Linked DNA regions of Homo sapiens: regions 2, 3, 4, 5 and 6 are each linked to region 1. Evidence: promoter capture Hi-C in 16 types of primary human blood cells and fetal thymus (Javierre and others, 2016). All regions are on one chromosome and are shown on one strand. The core of a region is centred on a gene start or on the middle of the fragment in contact, and the rest is flanking DNA. Distances in the headings are between cores, read along the strand shown. Region 1 holds the start of CEP55 (centrosomal protein 55). Region 2 holds the start of NOC3L (NOC3 like DNA replication regulator). Region 3 overlaps EXOC6 (exocyst complex component 6). Region 4 overlaps EXOC6 (exocyst complex component 6). Region 5 overlaps EXOC6 (exocyst complex component 6). Region 6 overlaps EXOC6 (exocyst complex component 6).

Evidence for each region. The method cuts DNA at HindIII sites, captures the fragments that hold promoters and counts their contacts. A CHiCAGO score of 5 or more calls a contact.
Region 2: the fragment with the promoter of NOC3L here is called in contact with the fragment with the promoter of CEP55 in region 1 in 4 of 17 cell types (activated CD4 T cells, naive CD4 T cells, fetal thymus and 1 more); the score reaches 7.0 in activated CD4 T cells.
Region 3: a fragment that was not itself captured here is called in contact with the fragment with the promoter of CEP55 in region 1 in 3 of 17 cell types (naive CD4 T cells, activated CD4 T cells and naive CD8 T cells); the score reaches 6.6 in naive CD4 T cells.
Region 4: a fragment that was not itself captured here is called in contact with the fragment with the promoter of CEP55 in region 1 in 3 of 17 cell types (naive CD8 T cells, fetal thymus and total CD8 T cells); the score reaches 5.3 in naive CD8 T cells.
Region 5: a fragment that was not itself captured here is called in contact with the fragment with the promoter of CEP55 in region 1 in 1 of 17 cell types (M1 macrophages); the score reaches 7.5 in M1 macrophages.
Region 6: a fragment that was not itself captured here is called in contact with the fragment with the promoter of CEP55 in region 1 in 1 of 17 cell types (M2 macrophages); the score reaches 5.2 in M2 macrophages.

What each region holds. Positions count from the first base shown.
Region 1 is chr10:93,494,941-93,498,566 of GRCh38, reverse strand. It overlaps CEP55 (centrosomal protein 55), which reads right to left and starts at 1,955. Exons shown (of 9, transcript NM_018131.5): 1 at 1,644-1,955. RefSeq lists a silencer at 1,627-2,136. The HindIII fragment of the contact is 5,966 bases long and covers 1-2,210 here.
Region 2 is chr10:94,360,971-94,364,596 of GRCh38, reverse strand. NOC3L (NOC3 like DNA replication regulator) reads left to right here and starts at 1,658. Exons shown (of 21, transcript NM_022451.11): 1 at 1,658-1,767; 2 at 2,725-2,932. The coding sequence starts at 1,759. RefSeq lists a silencer at 1,455-1,584 and an enhancer at 1,725-1,984. The HindIII fragment of the contact is 1,523 bases long and covers 1,230-2,752 here.
Region 3 is chr10:92,866,128-92,869,753 of GRCh38, reverse strand. All of the region lies in intron 1 of EXOC6 (exocyst complex component 6), which reads right to left. Among named protein-coding and RNA genes, the nearest start is that of EXOC6, 19 kb to the right of the region's middle. The HindIII fragment of the contact is 957 bases long and covers 1,295-2,251 here.
Region 4 is chr10:92,891,170-92,894,795 of GRCh38, reverse strand. It overlaps EXOC6 (exocyst complex component 6), which reads right to left. Exons shown (of 22, transcript NM_019053.6): 2 at 1,276-1,447; 3 at 1-2. Among named protein-coding and RNA genes, the nearest start is that of EXOC6, 44 kb to the right of the region's middle. RefSeq lists enhancers at 1-572, 1,905-2,404. The HindIII fragment of the contact is 1,457 bases long and covers 927-2,383 here.
Region 5 is chr10:92,943,166-92,946,791 of GRCh38, reverse strand. The region is part of intron 13 of EXOC6 (exocyst complex component 6); the gene reads right to left. Among named protein-coding and RNA genes, the nearest start is that of EXOC6, 96 kb to the right of the region's middle. The HindIII fragment of the contact is 239 bases long and covers 1,433-1,671 here.
Region 6 is chr10:92,970,995-92,974,620 of GRCh38, reverse strand. It overlaps EXOC6 (exocyst complex component 6), which reads right to left. Exons shown (of 22, transcript NM_019053.6): 18 at 389-568. Among named protein-coding and RNA genes, the nearest start is that of CYP26C1, 88 kb to the left of the region's middle. The HindIII fragment of the contact is 8,426 bases long and covers 1-3,626 here.

The sequences.
Region 1 (3,626 bases), core at 706-3,205:
ATCATCTATCAAAAGGTTAGTCCTGGATTTTTGCCATTATAAGGTGAAAGATTGCAGTAGCTCATCCATCAGTTAAAGAAATGCAAGGTTATGGCGTCTCTCAGTCACCTGCTGCCACAGGAAGTTCTTTCCTATGTGTTTCTGTTGATAACACACTGTTGACTTGATATCGTGGGTCGTAGGACAGAAAACTACTACCAAGTCATTGAGACACAAAATGATGGAAATATAGATCTGCAGAACGTGAAAGAACCCCCAAACATCTGCTTCCTAACCTTTGCACAGAAACTCTGGCAGTGAATGAATGACTACTAGTTTCTAGCCTCTGGCCCAGACGGTTTGGATCTCCCCCACCACCTAGTCCCACCAACCTCCTTTCCCTGTATTTTCTTTTTTCTGTTTCTGTTTCTTTCTTTTTTTTTTTGGCGGGGGCGGGGCGTTAGGGGCGGCAGAGTCTCGCTCTGTCGCCCAGGCTGGAGTGCAGTGGCACTATCTCAGATCACTGCAACCTCCGCCTCCCGGGTTCAAGGGATTCTCCTGCCTCAGCCTCCTGAGTAGCTGGGACTACAGGTGCGCGTCACCACGCCTGGCTAATTTTTTTTTATCTATTAGTAGAGATGAGGTTTCACCATATTGGTCAGGCTAGTCTCGAACTCCTGACCTCAAGTGATCTGCCCGCCTCGGCCTCCCAAAGTGCTGGGATTACAGGCGTGAACCACCGCGCCCGGCCACCTTTCCCTGTATTTCCTATTCCAGTCATCCACAGGGTTCCCCCAGTTCAAACCTTCCTCAGCATGCCTTCCCTCTGTGAACTCTTAACAAACGATATAGCTGCCCCACCCCCACCCCTACACAATCTAGTACCCAATTACACTTCCTGCTAACCTTTTATTTTTTCAATTGTTCAACTATTTTTTCAAGGACTGCACTTTGATTTTTGTTGTTGTTGTTGTTACCCACAGAGCCTAACAGCAAGCCCTCAGATATGATTGGTTGATTGGGGCCGGGCGCGGTGGCTCACGCCTGTAATCCCAGCACTCTGGAAGGCCGAGGCAGGTGGATCATCTGAGGTCAGGAGTTCGAGACCAGCCTGCCCAACATGGCGAAACCCTGTCTCTACTAAAAATACAAAAATTAACCGGGCGTGGTGGCGCACGCCTGTAGTCCCAGCTATTCAGGAGGCTGAGGAAGGAGAATCGCTTGAACCCAGGAGGCAGAGGTTGCAGTGAGCCAAGATCGTGCCATTGCACTCCAGCCTTGGTGACAGAGCGAGACTCCATCTCAAAAAAAAAGAAAAAAGAAAAGAAATGATTGGTTGATTAGCTGAAGTGACCTAAGTCATGCTGGACAGGTGACCAAACAAGCGCTTCCATCCAGTAAATGGTACAAGGCCTCAATTACAAGCCGCATCTTCTACAAGGCGACGCCAATCTTTAAAAATTCCCACATAAAATCTCACTTGAGGAGACAGACAGGAAAAGAGAAACTGCAAAAAAAGGCACAAGTTTTCTCACTTCTAAAATAAAGATGTTTGAGGAACACACAACGAAAGTGCCTGCCAATCGGAAAAAGCCGTCCTAACAAAAGACCTTGGGCAAGTCACTTGGCCTCTCTGCGCCTATCTGTAAGGAGATGATACCCACCGCCAAGTCCAAAGAAGCGATCGAAGAGACAACGGTCTTGAGGCGCCCAGCCGGGTGCCAGGCACGAAGTGAGCGCCAGGGAAAAGGACTGTTATCAGAGCGGGCAGAGATTGAATCCCGCGGACGCGATCTGCCCACTGACCTGCCCTCCCTGGCGGTCCGGACCGGCCCGGCCCCGGGGCTGCGGGTCCTGGCCGCCCCTCGCCACCCTCCGCGGTCGCCTCCCTTGGGCCAGCTAGCAGCTGAAGCGAAGCGCGGCGCTCGCGTCGGCCGAGTCACACCATCAGGTGTGGATGCCGCTTCCGGGAGTTTGAATCCCGCGGCTGCAGGGCGGGGCACGTCACTGCCGGCAGGGCGCGGCCCGCAAGAAGGAGGAGCAGCGCGCGCGCGGCGGGGACGCGGCTCCCCGATTGGCTGCCGCCTTTGAAGGGCGGAGAGTAAACCTGAGGGCGGGCCGAGAAGTGGCTGGGGCCGCGGGGCGGGACAGAGGGCGGGAACACTTCCTCCCGGGCCCGCCAGCTAATTCTGGGATCGGGGGTTCTCTGCGGGCTTAGACCTAAACAAGCTTGGTGTCTCGCAGTCAGGGGCTGGTTTTGTGTTTATACGCTTTTAGGAGAAAGCAAATTACTATTTTTAATGGGATAAAACCAGTGACGATGGACCGAGACGAACTAGTTCTGCGCTCTTGAGCATAGATTCTCCCTGTGTGAAGTGCGGCCCCTCCTGCCCTGGGACAACGGGATTTCACAAAGGAGCACAGCCCCCTTGTCATCCCCTCGGGTCTCACTCTGTCGCCCAGGCTGGAGTGGAGTGGTGCAATCATAGCTCACTGCAACCTCAGTCTCCCGGGTTCAAGCGATCGTCTTGCCTCAGCCTGCCGAGTAGCTGAGACTACAGGCGCACGCCACCACGCCCGGCTAATTTTTTATTAAAAAATTTTATACAGACAGCGGAGTGGGGGGGGGGGGGGGTGGTCTCACTTTGTTTCCCACTCTGATCACGAACTCCTGCCTTCAAGTGATCCTTCCACCTCGGCCTCCTAAAGTGCTGGGATTACTGCCAAAAATCAGCAGCACAGCAGGGAGTGTTAACGGGAGAGATGAGAGGCACGCCCAGGTTGAACGCTGAGATTATGAATGCTAGCGGACCGGCTTTCAGACCAGACTGCTACCCTCCAGCCTGATATCTATCTATTGATCGATTCTAGCTCTTGATTAGCCGCTTTGAGAACGTTACTGCTGAGAGAAGAAGCACATGAAATGTTTAGCAGGGCCTCCCTTTCTCTCCTAGACCCAGCATAAACTCGCTGGAGATTTAAAACAGTAGATACACAGTAGCAAAACATCCTAGGTACACAATATTGTACAAAGGTTATAAACTCTAGATTAGGACTTTCTAGATTTAATTCCTTACTGCCCTGACTAGATGTGTCTCCTTGGATAAATTTATTTAACCTATTTGAGCCTCGGTTTCCCGATGTGTAAAATGATGCAAATAATAATATTTACTTCACAGCTCGGTTATAAGGATTAAATGAGGAAATCCGGCCAGGTGGAATGGCTAATTCCTGTAATCCCACCACTACGTGAGGACGGGGAGCGAGGATTGCTTGAGGTCAGGAGTTGGAGACCAGCCTGGGCAACACAGAGAGATCCACTCTCACCCCACCCAATCCCTGTCTCTAATTTTAAAACTTTAAAATTTTTTTACATGAAAGAAATTCATGTAAAGTGCTTAACATTTAGTAAATGTTCAATTGATGTTAGCCATTGTTAAACAAAAGGCAACACTCAAATGTTACTGAATAGAATGGATGAGAAAACCATGTGGGGAATTTTAAAGAATCAGAGAAACAAAACCAAAACAGAATGCAAGATAACGTTTGGTACCTGCTTCCAAGGAGCTCCCATTTCTGAAGGGAAGGTAAACTAAAGTATCAAGTGGGATTAGGGTGGGAAAAATCAGGGCAAAAGATAAATCATC
Region 2 (3,626 bases), core at 409-2,908, 870 kb before region 1:
ACACTGTGTGGAAGGAGACAGAGCAAGGAAGAAGTTGGAAGGGAGGTTGAAAGAAGAGTGCCAGATGGACCTCTTGGTCTTTGTGGTGGGATCAGGAAATTGGTACTTTTTTCCCTCAGTCTCTCTAAGAGCAACACTATTCAAGGGGCTCAGAACCCTTTGAGCCGCACTACTGGGTTTTCCCACCTGCTCAGGACTGCGAGGCCAGACTCTGTGTCAGGGCCATGCTCAAAAATCATAGACTCAAAAAAACCCACAAAAAACTTGAAGTGGAATGCTTAAATTTATTGAGAAAAAAAAGTCTTTGAGAGACAAGCACTTTGATACTCTTATTCTTGCAATCCATAAAACTTCCTGTAAAAATGAACGACTTTAGGCGGGGCGCGGTGGCTCATGCCTGTTATCCCAGCACTTTGGGAGGCCAAGGTGGGCGAATCACGAGGTCAGGAGATCGAGACCATCCTGGCTAACACGGTGAAACCCCGTCTCTACTAAAAATACAAAAAAAATTAGCTGGGCGTGGTGGCGGGCGCCTGTAGTTCCAGTTACTCGGGAGGCTGAGGCAGGAGAATGGCGTGAACCCAGAAGGCAGAGCTTGCAATGAGCCCAGATTGCGCCACTGCACTCCAGCCTGGGCGCCAGAGCAAGACTCCGTCTCAAAAAACAAAAACAAAAAACGACTTTGGTGAAATTACTAAGCAGACAGAATTTACCCAAAGTTGTAAGATACTGAAATGCAGATACAGTTTTTTATTTTTATTTTTATTTTTTAGACAGTCTTGCTCTGTCACCCAGGCTGGAGTGCAGTGGTGTGATCTCGACTCACTGCAACCTCTGCCTCCTGGGTTCAAGCGATTCTCCTGCCTCAGCCTCCCGAGTAGCTAGGATTACAGGCGCACGCCACCATGTCTGGCTGATTTTTGTATTTTTAGTAGAGACAGGGTTTCACCATGTTGGCCAGGCTGGTCTCGAACTCCTGGAACTCAGGTGATCCACCCGCCTCTGCCTCCCTAAGTGCTGGGATTACAAGCGTGAACCACCGCACCCAGCCATGGATACAGTTCTTTATCAGCTAATGGTTAAAAATTAAAGCAAAAAAAAAATGCAAAATAAAACACTAAGAATCACAGACTTTTAAGTGACCAAGGCTGATGAGAAATCATTCGCCATGCTACAAACACGGCCAGAATGTCCGTCGAGGGGCAGGCATTACACACAAAAAATAAGCTTCTTTCTGCCCTCAGGACTGTATGGAGGAAAAAGACTACGAAAATCAGTATCTATAACAGCATGAGATAAGCAACGTGAGGAGAGGCACAAAATGCAATGAGGTGACCGAAAAAACCAAGTCCTCTCATTCTGAGAGGAGGAGCCCGATTTCCCCAAGGTTTTAAAAGAAATAAATAGGGCGAGAGTCAAAGAATCATACTCAGATAACCTTGCAAAATGCGCCCCTCCCGCCCGGCTTCCCGCCTTTGGCACCGACGCCCTCGGGGCTTCCCTCGTGCCAGTCCGCGCGCGCACGCCGGGGGGCAACCGGTCCAGGGCCGCGAGACAGTCACCGCGAGAGGGCGCGAGCCCGAACCTGTCTACGGAAGTCCCGCCCTCACTTCCGGCGGCGGAGGATTGGGAGGGACTGAAGGCCGTTTCCGGCTCTGGTAGTGTAGGGACTTCGGCACGTGTGTCATTCCCCGGGATTTCTGTAGTAACCCTGCTTCTGGTGAACTTGTCTGGCCGGCATTCATTTAAGGCCTAAGGATGAAGGCGGTAAGTGTCCTCAAAAGCCCGGTCGCCGCGGCCTAGGGCCCCTTCGGGTGATAGAGTCACTGCCTGAGTTAGCTTTTAGGCAGGTTTTCACCCGTGTCTAGGGGGCGGTGGTTTAGACTGGGGGCTTTCCATTCCTTACACCGAGCTCATCCTTGGTTACCCACTGTGTGCGCGCACCACTTCAGAGTATCACGAAGAGACAGGCACGGAGTTTTGCATGCGTGGGATTTCATACTTTGAAGGAATTTTTCAAGACCGTCTTTCGAACTCGTTTTTCACAAATGAGAAGCAGGGTCCTACCCTCAGCGAGTTTATAATGTGAGTCACGGTACCCATGAAGGGTAAAGAGATAGAAAAGCAAGTGATTTGTCCTGGTTCTCCCAGAAAATAAGAGGTAGTCCTGGGGTTCAGGACTAACTTTGGGATTTCTGAATGAGTCACCAGCAAGAGAAGTGGAATCCAAAGATCCGAATTCAGTTTTGCCCTCCTTAGTTTATGGGTCTTTTGGCAGCTTCATCAGTAATGTGAGGATAACAGCAGTCAGTACTCAACTAGGCTGTTAGAGGTGATTTGTTGGAGCACTTTGTAAGTAATAAAATCGTAGATAAATGTAAGTTTTATTAAAGACAGCCAGCATTTTGCTTTGAATGTGTTAAACTACAGGTGTGTTAAACTAGCCTTGAATAGCCACTTACCACTACTAGATCAGTGGTTCTTAACCTGTTTGGGGATCGTAGAACCCTTTGAATTGCTGTGAATTGGGATTGAATAACTGATGCTGTAGCGCTCTTCTGTAGGATTAAAGCCATCGTTTGGTTTTAGCTTTTATATGCAAGTCTGTGGCTGTGGGACATTGAAATTGTGGAATTGGTCTAATGAAATTTGTAATCAGTTCTCTTTAACCTGATTTAAAAAATAAGTTTCTGGGTATGCAGTATTCTTTCTGTTATTTTCTAGAGAAGAAATAAAAAACAGATCCCAAGCTTTCGCAAGTTAATAAAAACTAGTAAAGTCAAACTTGAAAACAAGCTAAAAAATAAGCAGTTTAAACAACAAAGCACTCTCAAGAAGTACCGAAAAGAACAGAGGAAACTAAGGCAAGCTGTGAAAGATGCTGTGTCTAAGAAACCCATTCCATTGGAGAACCCAAAGGAAAAGCGACCAGGTAATTGTGAAAACATCATGTGCTCTGGTTTCCATTGATTTATTCTGAAGTGTTCTTCATGGAAATAACTTTGCTTTCTAGTAATCGCTTTTCTTGTTCTCAGATCTTCCTAGAGTGGGTAAGGATAGTAGTCCTATAGGACTGCTATAAAGCATATATGCTTTATCACAGTCAGTATGAGAAAACATTTCAATACAGTATTCATTCAAGCTTCTGCTTTTAGTTTGTCTGGAAGGCAGATCTGAAGATGCACTACTTGGGAAAACAAACTGAAAGTACTCCGTTACATAAATATTGGGCAGTGTGCCAGTGCTGCCACTTTGCCATTCACCAGCAGTTAGGTAAGGTAAGAACATTGCTTGTCTCTGGTTCATTCTTCACAGTATTGCCAAGGTACACTTCTAAACTTCTGACTTTCTTTTCATGTGGAAACTTGGGGTGAAATTGAGTTGTAATTGTCATGGTTATTTTGTAAAACTATCTAAAAATTATTAAGTACTCAAAACTTGTAAGGAATATGACTATTTTGAGTCAGGCTAGTTCTACAACTTTGCTGGTACTTTTAGGGTATTCTTATTTGACTATATCAGATTATTAGACAACTATTCAGTCTTCTCAGGTCCATTTTTTAAAAATTATTATTATTATTTTAAATAGACAGGGTCTTGTTCTGTCACCCAGGCTGGAGTGCAGT
Region 3 (3,626 bases), core at 524-3,023, 630 kb after region 1:
AACTGAAAAACCCAACAGAATCAGTGGTGAAAATTTATAAACAATAAGAAAACTTAATAAACAGTTTAAAAATTAGCATACAAAGATCACCAGCATTCATTTATATATGAGCAAAAACCAATTAAATGACAATGTAAGGCCCCTGTCTAGGCACGGTGGCTCACATCTACAATCCCAATACTTTAGGAGGCCAAGTAAGGAGGATCACTTGAGGTGAGGAGTTTGAGACCAGCCTGAGCAACATAGTGAGACCCTGCCTCTACAAGGAAAAATAAAAATTAGTCAGTTATGGTGGCATGTGCCTATAGTCCTAGCTACTCAGGAGGCTGAAATGAGAGGATCCCTTAAGCCCAGGAATTTGAGGTTACAGCTAGCGGTGATCATGCTACTGCACTCCAGCCTGGACAACAGAGTGCGACCCTGTCTCATTTTTTTTTTTTTTTAAAAGAAAGGGCCTGCCATGGTGGCTCATGCCTGTAATCCAGCACTCTGGAAGGCCAAGGAGGGAGGATTACTTAAGCCCAGGAGTTTGACACCAGCCTAGGCAACAGGGTAAGACCTCATCTCTACAAAAAATTTTAAAAATTAGCCAAGCACTAATTTCAATCACACTGATGGAGCAAAACAATCGTATGACCATCTTCATAGATGCTGAAAAACATCTGACAAAATTCAACAAACTTTCTTGTTAAAAACACTAAATAAAGTGGGTATTGATGAATGTTTCCTTAACATGATAAAATATAAATCCCTCAGCACAAAAGCCAGAGCTCTCCTAATGAGAAAATACTAAAGGTTTTAGTCCCAGGTACTCGGAAGGCTGAGGTGGGAGAATCACTTGAACCCAGGAGGTTGAGGCTACAAGGTGAGTCATGATCATGCCACTGCCCTCCAGCCTGGTCTCTAGCAAGAACCTGTCTCAAAAAAAAAAAAAAAAAGAGGGAGGGAGGGAGGAAAGAAGGGAGGGAGGAAGGAAGGGAGGGCCCAATTAAAATAGTGAGAAAAAACACCTACACATAATCTTAAGGAATTCTAAAATTTATTTATGGAAAAGTTTAACTCTCTTGAAAGACATAACATGTTCTTGGATAGGAAGACTCAATATCATCAACATGCCTGTTCTCCCTAATTAATTTATAATTATAGCTCAATCCCAATCAAATACTTTGAGTGTTCTAGAACTAGAGAAATTTATTGTTTGTTTAGAGAAATAAGGAAGAGTCACCAGGAAATCCCTGAAAAAGATAAGCGATGAGATGCAGGTAGCCCTACCAGATATTAAAACAACGAAGCTTCCAAAATTAAAAGTGCTGCATAGCACATGAATAGACATATAGACAATGAACAGAACCAAGAAACCCACATACAGTATCACTGCGTATAAAAATTCAGTACATGATAATGGCACCATCTCAAATCAACATGAAAAAGACCTACATTTTAATAAGAGGTACTAGGATAGCTGGGTTGCCACGTGAAAAAAGATAAAGAGCCACTCCTCATGCCACACCCCAGGAAAATGCAAACAGAATCAGATGCAACATTAAAAAACACCATACAAGTACCAAAAGAAAACATGGGTGGACTCCCCTATAACTCCGGAATCTGGAAAACTTTCCTATGACTCAAAATTCACAAGCTAAAAAGGGAAAGACTGATAAATTTTATTTCATAAAATAAAAAACTTTTGCACAGCAAAAAATAAAAGTATAACTACAGTAAAAAGACAAATGAAAAAAATGTTTCTAATGGCAATTTTAAAAAACTGAAATGGACAAAAAAGATTACTGAATGTCCTATCTAGCATATTTTGGGGTTATCTGTGCCTTTCACTGTCTTTTGGCTATTTTACAACTTTATAAATTGTAGAAAGCTGATACTAATGCAAATGACTCTTGTCCAAAAAAATGCAGATATATTTTTGTCAGTGGAATACAATTGATTACTGCCCTGTGGATACTGACCAGTTGTGTATCCATTTATATATCCATCTCAGCATTCCCAAATCCTATATTGTTTTTTGCCATTGCCTTTGAAACAGTTGTAACATCATACTGATTCCCTCTTAATAAGTTAAATACAATCTTTGGCACATATTCATTTTACATTTGTGTGAGGGTCATGATTTTACCTTTTTGAAAATTATCTTTTAATAGTTTTGGAAGTTTTACCAAAATGCCCAGTGCATTCACCTGACAGAGCCAAGAAAACTGCTTTATCAGATAATTGCACCTCATGGGCTACTCAAGCTTGGGTATTATCTTTTCTTGGCTCCCAGAAGTAAAACCCAAGCAGCAATATATACTTAACTTTGCTGCCTGTTTCTCTGGGTCATCCCCGCTTCCCCCATCCTCTCTACAAATTATATGTTCTGGTGTGGTTTCTAGTTACTGCATGGCCAGTAAGTTATCACCCCTAAATGGCAGCAATGATTGAGAATTCGATTTTATGATCATTTACTTGGTGATCCTTATAGACGGATGATAGAGATCACTTGGGTAAAAGATAAAAGAGACTTTGGTTTGTTAGTCTTTTTAACATATCTGTTTATTCTGAGCTCAAATCCAGTTAAGAATTTCATGTCCACCAAGAACAGGTCTTTGACATCTGGACCAATGAGTTTTTCTATCTCTGTGACTCTTACATCTCTTGACCTGTGAGTGAAGTTACAGAAACAAAGTTACAAAGCTCTGCATCTGTAATTCAGAAAGACTTTTACCTCTTCATTAAGTATGTAAAACAAGTTATCTCTATTAATAGTTTAAACTATAAAGTCTCTTGAATGAAAGAAACTCTGTTCTGACTGGCTTATTGATACAAATAAGTACTTATATAAATAGAATATTTGTAAAATTCCCCCAAAACAAGGAAATTGAACTTCTAATATGTTAAATGTGTTAGACTTAAGAAAAATTCTTATGGAAACTAACTCAAAAACATTTTTAAAACCCAAGGTCACCTAAATAAGATACAATTTTGGCAAACCTTGATAATTTCAGTTTTTAAAAATAGCTATTTCTTGTCTCTGATTAATCATTTTATTCTGCTAAGATTTTTTTTCCTAAACACATACAGGTTTACTGATCACATAAGCTAACATTACCCTACATAATATTTAAGATGATGAAAAGGTAAACTCGCGCTCAAATAAATTATTCTGACAAACTTTTAATTTAAACATGTATGAAAATAATTTCCAACATTTTTAGGTAACAAAACCTTGATATTAAGTTAATTAATAAATAATAATTGGATATCTAATTAATTTTTAGTACAACAGAACCCAAGACGACTGATTACTAAGCACAATTAAGTTTATATATTTGTTTCTTTATATGTTATATAAAGGCTATGGTTTTGGGACATGTTAATGAAAGTGTTCAGTTTTGCCACTTTAAGAAGGTATAAAAGGAATGTTTGTGGCTATAGGAGTTTATATTACGTGTGCTCATGAGTTTTCCAAGTGTGATAAAATTCTTGTGTACAACAGACAGTTCTCAATGTTTAATCCCAGTGTTTTAATGTGAAATATAAATTAGTTACTTGGATTAAAAATTTAAAATCATTACCAGCAGTTAAGATAATACTAGGAAAAATAGTAAGAGAGAAATATAATACAATTGTGT
Region 4 (3,626 bases), core at 406-2,905, 600 kb after region 1:
ACCTTAAAAATTTAATTTCACCTTAGTTAGACAAATATGCATAAAACTGCCCTGATGTAACTGCTCACCCTTGTAATCAGATCATGCTTCATGAGAAACTTAGAACAAAGAAATGCAAATTCAAATTAACTCTACAGCTTGAACTTGAACTTTTGATTGAAAAGGGCTTTTGTTAACTTCAATTACTTATGACAGTTCTTTTTAACAGATTCTGTGGCAAACTTCTCAAATTTACTCAGGATTTTTGAACTTTACTTGCTTCTCTAAGTCTGTCAAACAATTCAAATCACTGACCCAATTGACCACTGGTCCCCTTTTGATAACTTCAATGAGGTCTATGTGCCATTCATTGTCTGTAGGAAATGGTGATTGCATTTTATGGTAATTAAACATTCATACTTTGCTGAATGCAAACACTGGGTGGTTGATTAACATCAAACACAGAAATTTCAATCCACAGCAACATTTTAATGCTGCAGGTGCAGGCAAAGCTCAACCTCAAATTTTCCCACATATTAAGTGACTCATTAGGTCATCATAGTAAGGAAGCACATTCTGGTTTATTAAAAATCTCATTAATTTCTGAACAAAGATGCTCAGTGACCTCATTGATGCTGTAGTTAGTCTCTTGTTATCTGAATATCCTTTATACAATGGTTTTCTAATCATAACCTTTGGTGAACCAGGGTCATTTTGTCTGCTAAGTGCTCTAAACGTAAAGAAAGATAAATAGGACAATTCTTATAATTAAATATTTTTTATCCTGACTGAACAAATCTAGGTCTCTTTTAATAAATAATGTTTTAGCTGTATGGCAGAAAGTGTAGACCAACTTTCTTTAAGAAAAATACACACTGCTGTTAAACTTTTCAAAAAGTTTTAACATTATTAAATAATGCTGAGAACATAACTATTTATCATAAGCTTTTAAAGGAATTTTAGAGGATAACATTTTATAAATATTGTACTAACTGTCATTTTAGAAATTCAAAAACTGCAAATAGGGCCTTTCATTGTATGCATGTTTTGAGTTCACTTCCCTGCATGGAAAGAAATCCTGTTAAGTCAGTGCATTACTTGCTTCAGAAAAAGAGAATACTCCTGTCATTAGCATGACAACTGTGTTAATAGAGCATAAAGAGCATTCCCTAATACATATACTAATTCACTTCTTGAAAGTAACATACTTAATAATGACTTGTACATATGTACTATCAACTAAGACTTGAGTAATTTAATGAGAACAAAGGCAAATAATTTTAACATATTTCTTACCTTCAGTTTTTCTGCATCAGTCCTTACTTTAAGGAGTTCTGTAATAGCATCTACAAAACCCTGATGATGAAAATTACACATCTTTTCAATTTCCTTGTCATGATTACGGATACAAGCATCTAACTTTTCCATAAACTTCTTGTGCGCATTTGGTTGGTCATCATACACAGACCTGAATGTATATAAGAAAGCTAAAATTAACCAAAATGTATTATTTAGTAAGCCTGATCTTTGCAAGAGGTGATATCTTAAAATTAAATCTCTGAACAAATAAACTGGTGATAATATTACCTTTAGCAGAAATAATTTGCGTGAAAGTATTTTATTTCTTCTTGAACATGATAATATTAAAAGAACCACACAAGCTCTAGATATAGCATGAGGTATCTGGAAATAAAGGTATGAGGCTCAGGAGATGTGGGCCTAATACAAGTCTTTAACATACTAACATTCAAAAACAAAGAATTACTGAGTGAATGAATGGTTAAAGAATGAATGAACAAACTCATGATTTTTACAGCATTTACTATGTAAAGTAAACGCTCATGTTCTAAATGCTTTATATATTAACTCTTTAATCCCCACAACAAGGCTACAAAGTAGGTATTGTTATTACCCTTGTTTTACAGAAGAGTTACAGATTACTGAACTGCCATAAATTCCACAACCAGCACAAGTGATAGCTGGGATATGACTCCTGATAGTCCGGCTCCAGGGTTCATATTCTCAGGTACAAGCCCATATTGCAGTCACCACAATGTTTCCTAAACATGGCATATTCATTCCTACTGTCTCTCAGCTCATGCTGTCTCCACAGAGAGCGTACCCCTCTATTCACCATGCAGTAAAGGACTACCCTTGCCACTGATTCCTGGGAGGAAAGCCTTTGGCATACCCTGCCTGGTAAGTGTCTTCTTTGTTTACCTGGAAGGCTTTGACTGCCAAATAGCAGATGCTAACAGTGTGACTCACGGTGAGGCCTGAGGCCACACAGTTTTAGCTGTGGAGGGGCAGGAGGTCAGCAATGTGGGCAGTCAGCCAAGTCTACATGGGTAGTCAGTCATGGCTATATGACCAAACTCCAATAAAATTCCTGGATATCAAAGCTTGGATGAGCTTCCCTGATTGACAATACTCCATGCGTGTTACCACACATCACTGCTGGGAGCAGTAAGTGCTGTCCACAATTCCACTGAGAAAGGACAACTGAAAGCTCACTCGTGGAACTCTCCTAGTCCCTGTCCTATGTGCCTTTTCTGCTGTTGATTTTAATCTGTGTAGTTTTTTGAAAGTTTTTGTTGTTGTTGTTTTTGCTGTAACAAACAGTAACTATGAGTGTAACAACTTTGCTGAATTTTGCAAGTCCCTCTAGCAAATTTTTGAACCTGAGAGTGGTCTTGGGAACTTTCCAAACCTCACCCCACATCCGTTGCCCATTGTTTGAGGTTCATTTCAAGTCCCATTTCTTCCAGCAGGCCTTTGCCAATCATTCCCATGCCAAGTAATCTTTTCATCTGCAGGACAGGTAAACTTACAACCCCTTACAGTTATTCTGACACGTAATCATATATTACTTTGTATTGTAATTTACATGTTTTGTATTTAAAATATATTTTGTTTCCCCAAATAGACCATAAACTTCTTGAGGGTAGCCTCTGTCTTAGGTTTTTAATGAATACACTCTCTAATACAAGAGGTAACAATATAGGATACCAATTATTAAGAATTTAGACTCTTGGCAGCCAGGTGCAGTGGCTCACACCTGTAATCCCAGCATTTTGGGAGCCGATGCGGACAGATCACTTGAGGTCAGGAGTTTGAGACTAGCCTGGCCAACATGGTGAAACACTGTCTCTACTAAAAATACAAAAATTAGCTGGGTGTCGTGGCAGGTGCCTGTAATCTCAGCTACTCAGGAGGCTGAGGCAGGAGAATCGCTTGAACCCGGGAGGCAGAGGTTGCAGTGAGCAAAGATCATACTACTGCACCCCAGCCTGGGTGACAGAGTGAAACTCCGTCTAAAAAAGAAAAAAAAGAATTTAGGTTCTTGGCATCTATGCCTACATTCTAATGTACGTCAAATATAAATTTTAATTTTTTTAATTTTTTAAAAAATGTAGGTTCTGTAAGAGCTGAGTTAGAACTAGGCTCTGATCTTGGACATATTCTCTTTTCTATCTCCATGTCATCTTGACTTGTAGCTTTAAATTCCATAAGCACACTGACACCTGCTAAATTTTTATCTCTGCCCTGACCTCTCCTCAAACTCATATATCTCTCCAATTAGATGTCTGATAAGCACCTCAAATATGTCCGAAAATGAATTCCTGATCTCCTTTCACAAAACCTGC
Region 5 (3,626 bases), core at 303-2,802, 550 kb after region 1:
GGGAGAAAAGCATTCTAGACCACTGGAATATATACGCAAAGGCACAAGGAGTGAGCGTTAGTGTGTGGGGGGGTGTAAAACCACAAGTAGTGCAGTATTACAAAGTATAAAGTCTGAGGGACATGGTGAAAAATGAGATTGGACAGGTGTGCAAACAGACATCCAGATTTCACTCTGTAGGCATTAAAAGGTTTTAGGAAAGGGAATGTCATAGGAAGATATTCACTGTGTGAAGGATAAACTGGAAAAAGCCTAATAATGAACACAGAGAGATCACTTAGAAAAACTGAAGAATAATCTAAATAAAAGGTGACGAGGATCTGAATTAAAGCTGCAACAGTAGGGGTAGAAAGGAAGTAGCATAAATGAAAGCTTTACTTTTTTTAATTTTTTTTTTTAAGACAGGGTCTCACTCTGTCGCCCAGGCTGGAGTGCGGTGGTGCAATTTCGGCTCACTGCAGCCTCAGCCTCCCGGGTTCAAGCGATTCTTTTTTTTGAGACGGAGTCTAGCTCTGTCACCCAGGCTGGAGTGCAGTGGCGCAATCTTGGCTCACTGCAAGCTCCGCCTCCCGGGTTCACGCCATTCTCCTGCCTCAGCCTCCTGAGCAGCTGGGACTACAGGCGCCGGCCACCACGCCCAGCTAATTTTTTTTTTTTGTTTTTTTAGTAGAGACGGGGTTCCACTGTGTTAGCCAGGATGGTCTCAATCTCCTGACCTGGTGATCCACCCACCTTGGCCTCCCAAAGTGCTGGGATTACTGGCGTGAGCCACCGTGCCCGGCCTCAAGCGATTCTTACACCTTAGCCTCCTGAGTAGCTGGGACTACAGGGTGTGCGCCACTAATCAACCACACCCAGCTCTACCAAAAAATACAAAAATTACTTTTTTGGTATTTACTTTCACTAATTCTATTTCATTCTACATAGAGTTTAAAAATAAAGTAAAACGTTAAAAGGCAGGGCTAAATGAGGTGGCTCACACCTGTAATCTTTGGGAGGCTGACGCAGGCAGAACACTTGAGGCCAGCCTGGGCAACACAGCGAAATGCTGTCTCTGTTTTAAAAATAAAAATAAAAATGATGAAAGGTTAAAAGGCAAGTTACAGGGAAAGTAACTACTAGAAGACAATAAACTACTAACTTTATACAAATGCCAGGGAACCAGTTACTATGGAAGAAGAGATAATTTAACGAAAGGCACATTTATATTCTAAGAATGTTAATGTAGTCTTAATATGATCTGTTTATAGAACCAAATTCTATAAACGTGTATAAGTTCCTACTCTGTCAGGCACTATACTAGGGCTAGGCAATCAAGAATATAAATAGCTCCATGGCATTGGTCTAGATAATGATTTTTAAAAATATAACCCCAAAAGCACAGGCAACAAAAGCCATAGTAGACAAATAAACTGGATCAAACTAAAAAGCTTCTGCACAGCAAGGAAACAACAGAATGAAGAGGCAAGTTACAGACTGGGAGAAAATATTTGCTGATATATATCTGATACATATAATAAGGAGTTAGTATCCAAAATACATAAGGAACTCAACTCAATAGAAGAAAACAAATAACTGAATTAAAAAGTGGGCAAAGGACCTGAATAGATATTTATCAAAAGAAGACACAAAAATGTCCAACAGGTATACAGATCAGGAATAAGCAAAGCTTAACATCACTAATCATCAGGGAAATCCAAATTAAAAATACAACAAGGCTGGCCAGGCACAGTGGCTCGCACCTGTAATCCCAGCACTTTGGGAGGCGGAAGCAGGCAGATCACCTGAGGTCGGGAGTTCGAGACCAGCCTGACCAACATACAGAAACCCCATCTCTACTAAAAATACAAAATTAGACGGACGTGGTGGTGCAGGCCTGTAATCCCAGCTACTCGGAAGGCTGAGGCAGGAGAATCACTTGAACCTGGGAGGCAGAGGTTGCAGTGAGCTGAGATTGCACCATTGCACTCCAGCCTGAGCGACAAGAGCGAAACTCTGTCTCAAAAAAAAAAAAAAAATACAACGAGGTATCACCTCACAGCTGTGAGAATGGCCATTATCTAACAGACACAAGATAAGTGTTGGTGAGGATGTGGAGAAAGGGAACCTTTGCACGCTGTTGGTGGCAATGTAAATTAATATATCCATTATGGAAAACAGGATGGAGGTTCCTCAAAAAACTAAAAATAGAACTACTATATGATCCCAGCAATCTCATTTCTGGGTGCATAACCAAAAGAATTAAAATCAGTATCAAGCCAGGCACAGTGGCTCACATCTGTAATCCTAGCACTTTGGGAGGCCAAGGCAGGCGGATCACTTGAGGTCAGAGTTTGAAACCAGGCTGGCCAAGATGGTGAAACCCTGTCTCTACTAAAAATACAAAAATTAGTGGGGCATGGTGGTGCACACCTGTAATCCCAACTACTTGGGAGGCTGAGGCAGGAGACTCACTTGAACTTGGGAGGCGAAGGTTGCCATGAGCCAAGATCACGCTGCTGCACTCCAGCCTGGGTGATAGAGCAAAGACTCTGTCTCAAAAAAAATAATAAAAATTAAAAAAAAAAGATCGGTATCTCAAAGAGTTATCTGCATTCCCATGTTCACTGCAGAATTATTCACAATAGCCAAAATACGGAATCGACCTTTGAATGGATTAAAAAAAAGTGCATATACACAATGGAATACTATTCAGCCCTATAAAAGAGGGAAATTCTGTCATTTGCAACAACAAGGATGAACCTTGAGGACATTATGCTAAGTGACATAAGCTAGGCACAGAAGTCAAATACTGCATAATCTCACTTATATGAGGAATCTAAAACAGTCACACTCACAGAAGTAGAGAGAAGCCTGATTTCTGATTTATAGGTTACCAGAGGGTAGGGCGATCAGAAAGTGGCGTAGGCAGGGTAGGGAGATGCCAAGATGTTTGTCAAAGAGTACAGTTTCAGTCAGACAGGAGAAATAGGTTTTTGAGATCTATTCCACAGCAAGGTGACTACGGTTAATAATAATGTAACATATATTTCAAATTGCCAACAGTAGATTTTAAATGTTTGCACCACTAAAAAAAAAAAATAAGTACGTGAGGTGATGGATATGTTAATTTGCTTGATTTAATCATTCCATAATGTATACAATATACCAAAACATCAAACTGTACCTCATAAATCTATAAAATTATTGTCAATTAAAAACTAAATAAAAGCACATGTATCCAAAAATAATACAAAAATAAAACAGGGCTCATAATATAGTGAGAGAGAGCTGCATACAGATAAAATGTAACAGTAGTCAGGTTATAAATTCTATCATGGAAGTAGTCAAGTTTTGAATATCATTCAGTATTGATAATTTTTCTTTTTCCCCCATTTAATTGTTAGGTTGTCAATTCACTATTTATAAAATATTTAAGGATACGGGTCAGAGGTAAGCAAAGCTTAAGTTGTGCTACTTCTTAAAAATTTAGGTGGCCAGGAGGGGTGGCTCACGCCTGTAATCCCAGCACTTTAGGAGGCCAAGGCGGGTACATCACAAGGTCAGGAGATCGAGACCATCCTGGCTAACACGGCGAAACACCATTTCTACTAAAAGTACAAAAAATTAGCCGGGCGTGGTGGTGG
Region 6 (3,626 bases), core at 410-2,909, 520 kb after region 1:
TCGGCTCGGCATCAGAGGGAGACGTGGAAAGAGAGGGAGAGGGAGACCGTGGGGAGAGGGAGACGGGAGAGGGAGACGAGCAATTGTGTTAACTCTATGTAAATTATTTCTATTAGAGATTATTTCTATTTAAGTCTATATTGTCAGTTTCAGGGTTTTGCCTTGGCTTTGGTGGAAAGAGAGTTACAGTTATTTTGGTTAAAAATAAAATAAATTAAAATTTCAAACAATTTGGCTAAGTTATAATTCCTTACAAATGGATTTATAATAATGGAGAAAGAAACATGCACTCCAAGAAGTTGGTTTAAGCAAGGAAACCTCAAACTAAATTCTAAAATATACTTTAGTAAGCAAACATAAAACAATTTTTGAAAATTTTTATACTTACAGGCAAATGAGTAAACACTTGAAAGATGCTTCTCAAAAAATTTATAAGGTCCATTAAATAACCACTAGCTCTTCCATCTGGCTCAGACATTGTCCAGTCATAATCAGCAAGCTGAACAAATTCATCAATTTTTTGATTCAGTTTGGTATATATTTCTCCTTCTGCTGCATGTCGAGCATCCTGACATGGGACAAAATAACAACAAAGACAAGAAACAGATAATAAAACAAGTGTTCTTACAATTCTAGATATTATTTTACATTTACCTTTGGTTTAATATTTTAGCCATTTATTCAAAGTCCAGGAAAACTGTTGGTTTTTTTTTTCTGGCAGTACTCTATTTATTTGACTGGATATCACATCACATCTTTTCTTAGTTCCTTTCTAACCTATCACCTTTTTTTGTCTTTATGTGATAGAATACTTTATGAGATATTAATTCCTGACTTGTTCTCACAACTCTAAGAGGACCCTTAGGAGAAACAGAAGTAGAAAAACGAAAGTTGCCAAGAACACAGAAGACCACCTCTATCTAACCCCTGATTCACTGAGAGCAATTAAGTTGGACTATCACAGAAGAAATGGAATATCTGCCAGTGCTTTGAGTTTAAGCAGGGGTGGAGGCAGAAGAGAAAGAGATTGAGATAGTTAATTTCTCTGAGAAGAAAGAAACAATAGGAGTGATGCCAGCAAAAATAACAGCGGGAGGATCTCCAAACATTTTCTCATCCATAAAAGTAACCAGAAAACTTATCAAAAATTGTCAAAATCAACCTTTTCAGAACTCTGAAAATTAGTTCAAAACTTGCAGAAATACAGGCATCATTTATTCAAGAAAAACAGCTAAATCTTGGTAGAAAAATGAGCTTTGTAGCATTTTAATGTGCCCTATTTCCATTATTCTTCCTCTGTTCCAGCTCTACAGTACTCTCAAAAGACAACATTCTAAAACTCTGGTGGAAACCTATAGCTTGCCAGCTATCAAAGCAGACAGAACAGAGCTGCAGCTCCTTCAAAGCCACATTCTCAGAGAATTATCATTATTTGACCTATCTGGTGGTTCCCTGGAAGACTCCATGCCTATTTACAGGGATGTCTTTATTTGACCTGAATCAGGACTTGCCTAGTACAAAAAGCCTTTTCCCCAGGGGCAGCTGTCAAAAACAATTAGAGGCAATAAGTTTAACATGGAGGATGCCTGAGATGGTAGGTAACAACTGGGACAAACGATAGGTCAACCAAAGGGCTTAAAAGGAAAAATTAGGGAATAAAATGTCCACAGATGACTCTGAAAAGCTCTAACAGATTCCTGGGCATCTAAACGGCCACATACATACATAGGGCTGTGTACACACTTGGGAAAGACCTAAGAAGGCTCCAAGCTCTCATTTATGGCTGACCTTGAAGCTCTGTGCAAGACAGAAATAAAACAGGGTAGTGACAGGAGAAAATGAAATTCTAGGCAGCAGTTTTATGTGACTAGCCAAAGGAAACTGTTGAAATAGCTGCAGAAGCTATGGGCTGATAAGACAAGACCCTGAAAAACAGGGTGTAAACCATGCTGGCTAAGACTGACAGGACTCAACATGGTGATAGATTTGGCCTAAGTTTCACCCAGGGCTCAATGTACACTCATAACATACTATATCACATACCCACCAGTGCCATGACAATTTTAGGAACACTCATATTTGGTGTAAAAACAGGTGGCACCACAGTTCCAAAAAAAATTCCACCTTTTTCCAGGAATCATCATGAATATTTCATCCCTTGGTTAAAGAAATTCATAAAGATAGCAGCTCCACCCCACCTTGTGCATGACTCACTCACTCTCTCTCTCTCAAGTGTGCCTGCACTCCCCTCTCTTGAATGTGTACTTTTTTGTTTTGCAATTAAGTCTCCATACTTTCACTATTTTCTGACTCATCCTTGAATTCCTTCTCACGACAGTATCAAGAGCCTGGACACTGGCTGGGATCAAGGTCCCAGCAGCATTTGGGGACGTCCCCTAGCCCACTGGTATCATGTGCAAGCAGGAAGTAAAAGTCAAAGCAGAGTGATTAACTTCCTATCTCAGTGTTTAAGACACACCCCAACATGTGCACGGAGCCCTTTGGCAAAGACTAGGGGACTTACAGGTTCCAGGCTTTTAAGCAGATCTGTATCCAATCACCAGATGACCACTAAGCTAACCAAGCAAAGACTTCAGTGGCCACATATGACAAAGAACACAGACTTACAGATTTAGTTCAGAAAGGTCACAAAACAAACAACAGATGGGAGAAACAACAAACCCTTGGGAGAGGTGAGAACTTCCAAAGTTGTCATCTTATATTATTATAAATGTACAGTTATCAACAAAAAATGACAAGTTATGCAAAGAAACAAAGTATGACCAATACACGGAAAAAAAGCAACCAATAGAAACTGTGAGGCAGCTCAGATGTTGAACTTATAAGACAAAAACTTAAGAACAAAAGGAAACCATATCTAAAGAACTAAAAGAAAATTATGAGAATACATCAATAAATAGGGAATATAAATAGAAATTATTAAAAAGTACAATAAGTGACGCGTGTAATCCTAGCACTTTGGGAGGCCGAGGCAGGTGGGTGGATTATCTGAGGTCAAGAGTTCGAGATGAGCCTAGCCAACATGGTGAGACCCCATCTCTACTAAAAATACAAAAAATTAGCCACACGTGGTGGTGTGTGCCTGTAATCCCAGCTACTTGGGAGGCTGAGGCAGGAGAATCACTTAAACCTGGGAGGCTGAGGTTACAGTGAGCCAAGATGGTGCCACTGCACTCCAGCCTGGGTGACAGAGTGATACTCCATCTAAAAAAAGAAAAAAAAAAGTACAATAAGTGAAGTGAAAAAAAAATCACTAGGCTGGGCGTGGTGCCTCACGCCTGTAATCCCAGCACTTTGGGAGGCCAAGGCGGGTGAATCACGGGGTCAGGAGATCAAGACCATCCTGGCTAACATGGTGAAACCTTGTCTCTACTAAAAATACAAAAAAATTAGCCAGGCCTGCGCCTGTAGTCCCAGCTACTCGGGAGGCTGAGGCAGGAGAATGGCATGAACCTAGGAGGTGTTCCTTGCAATGAGCCGAGATCGCGCCACTTCACTCCAGCCTGGGCAACAGAGCGAGACTCCGTCTCAAAAAAAAAGAAAAAAAATCACTAAAGAAGTTCAACAGCAGATTTGAGCAGGCAGAAAAACCAGAAGACTTGATC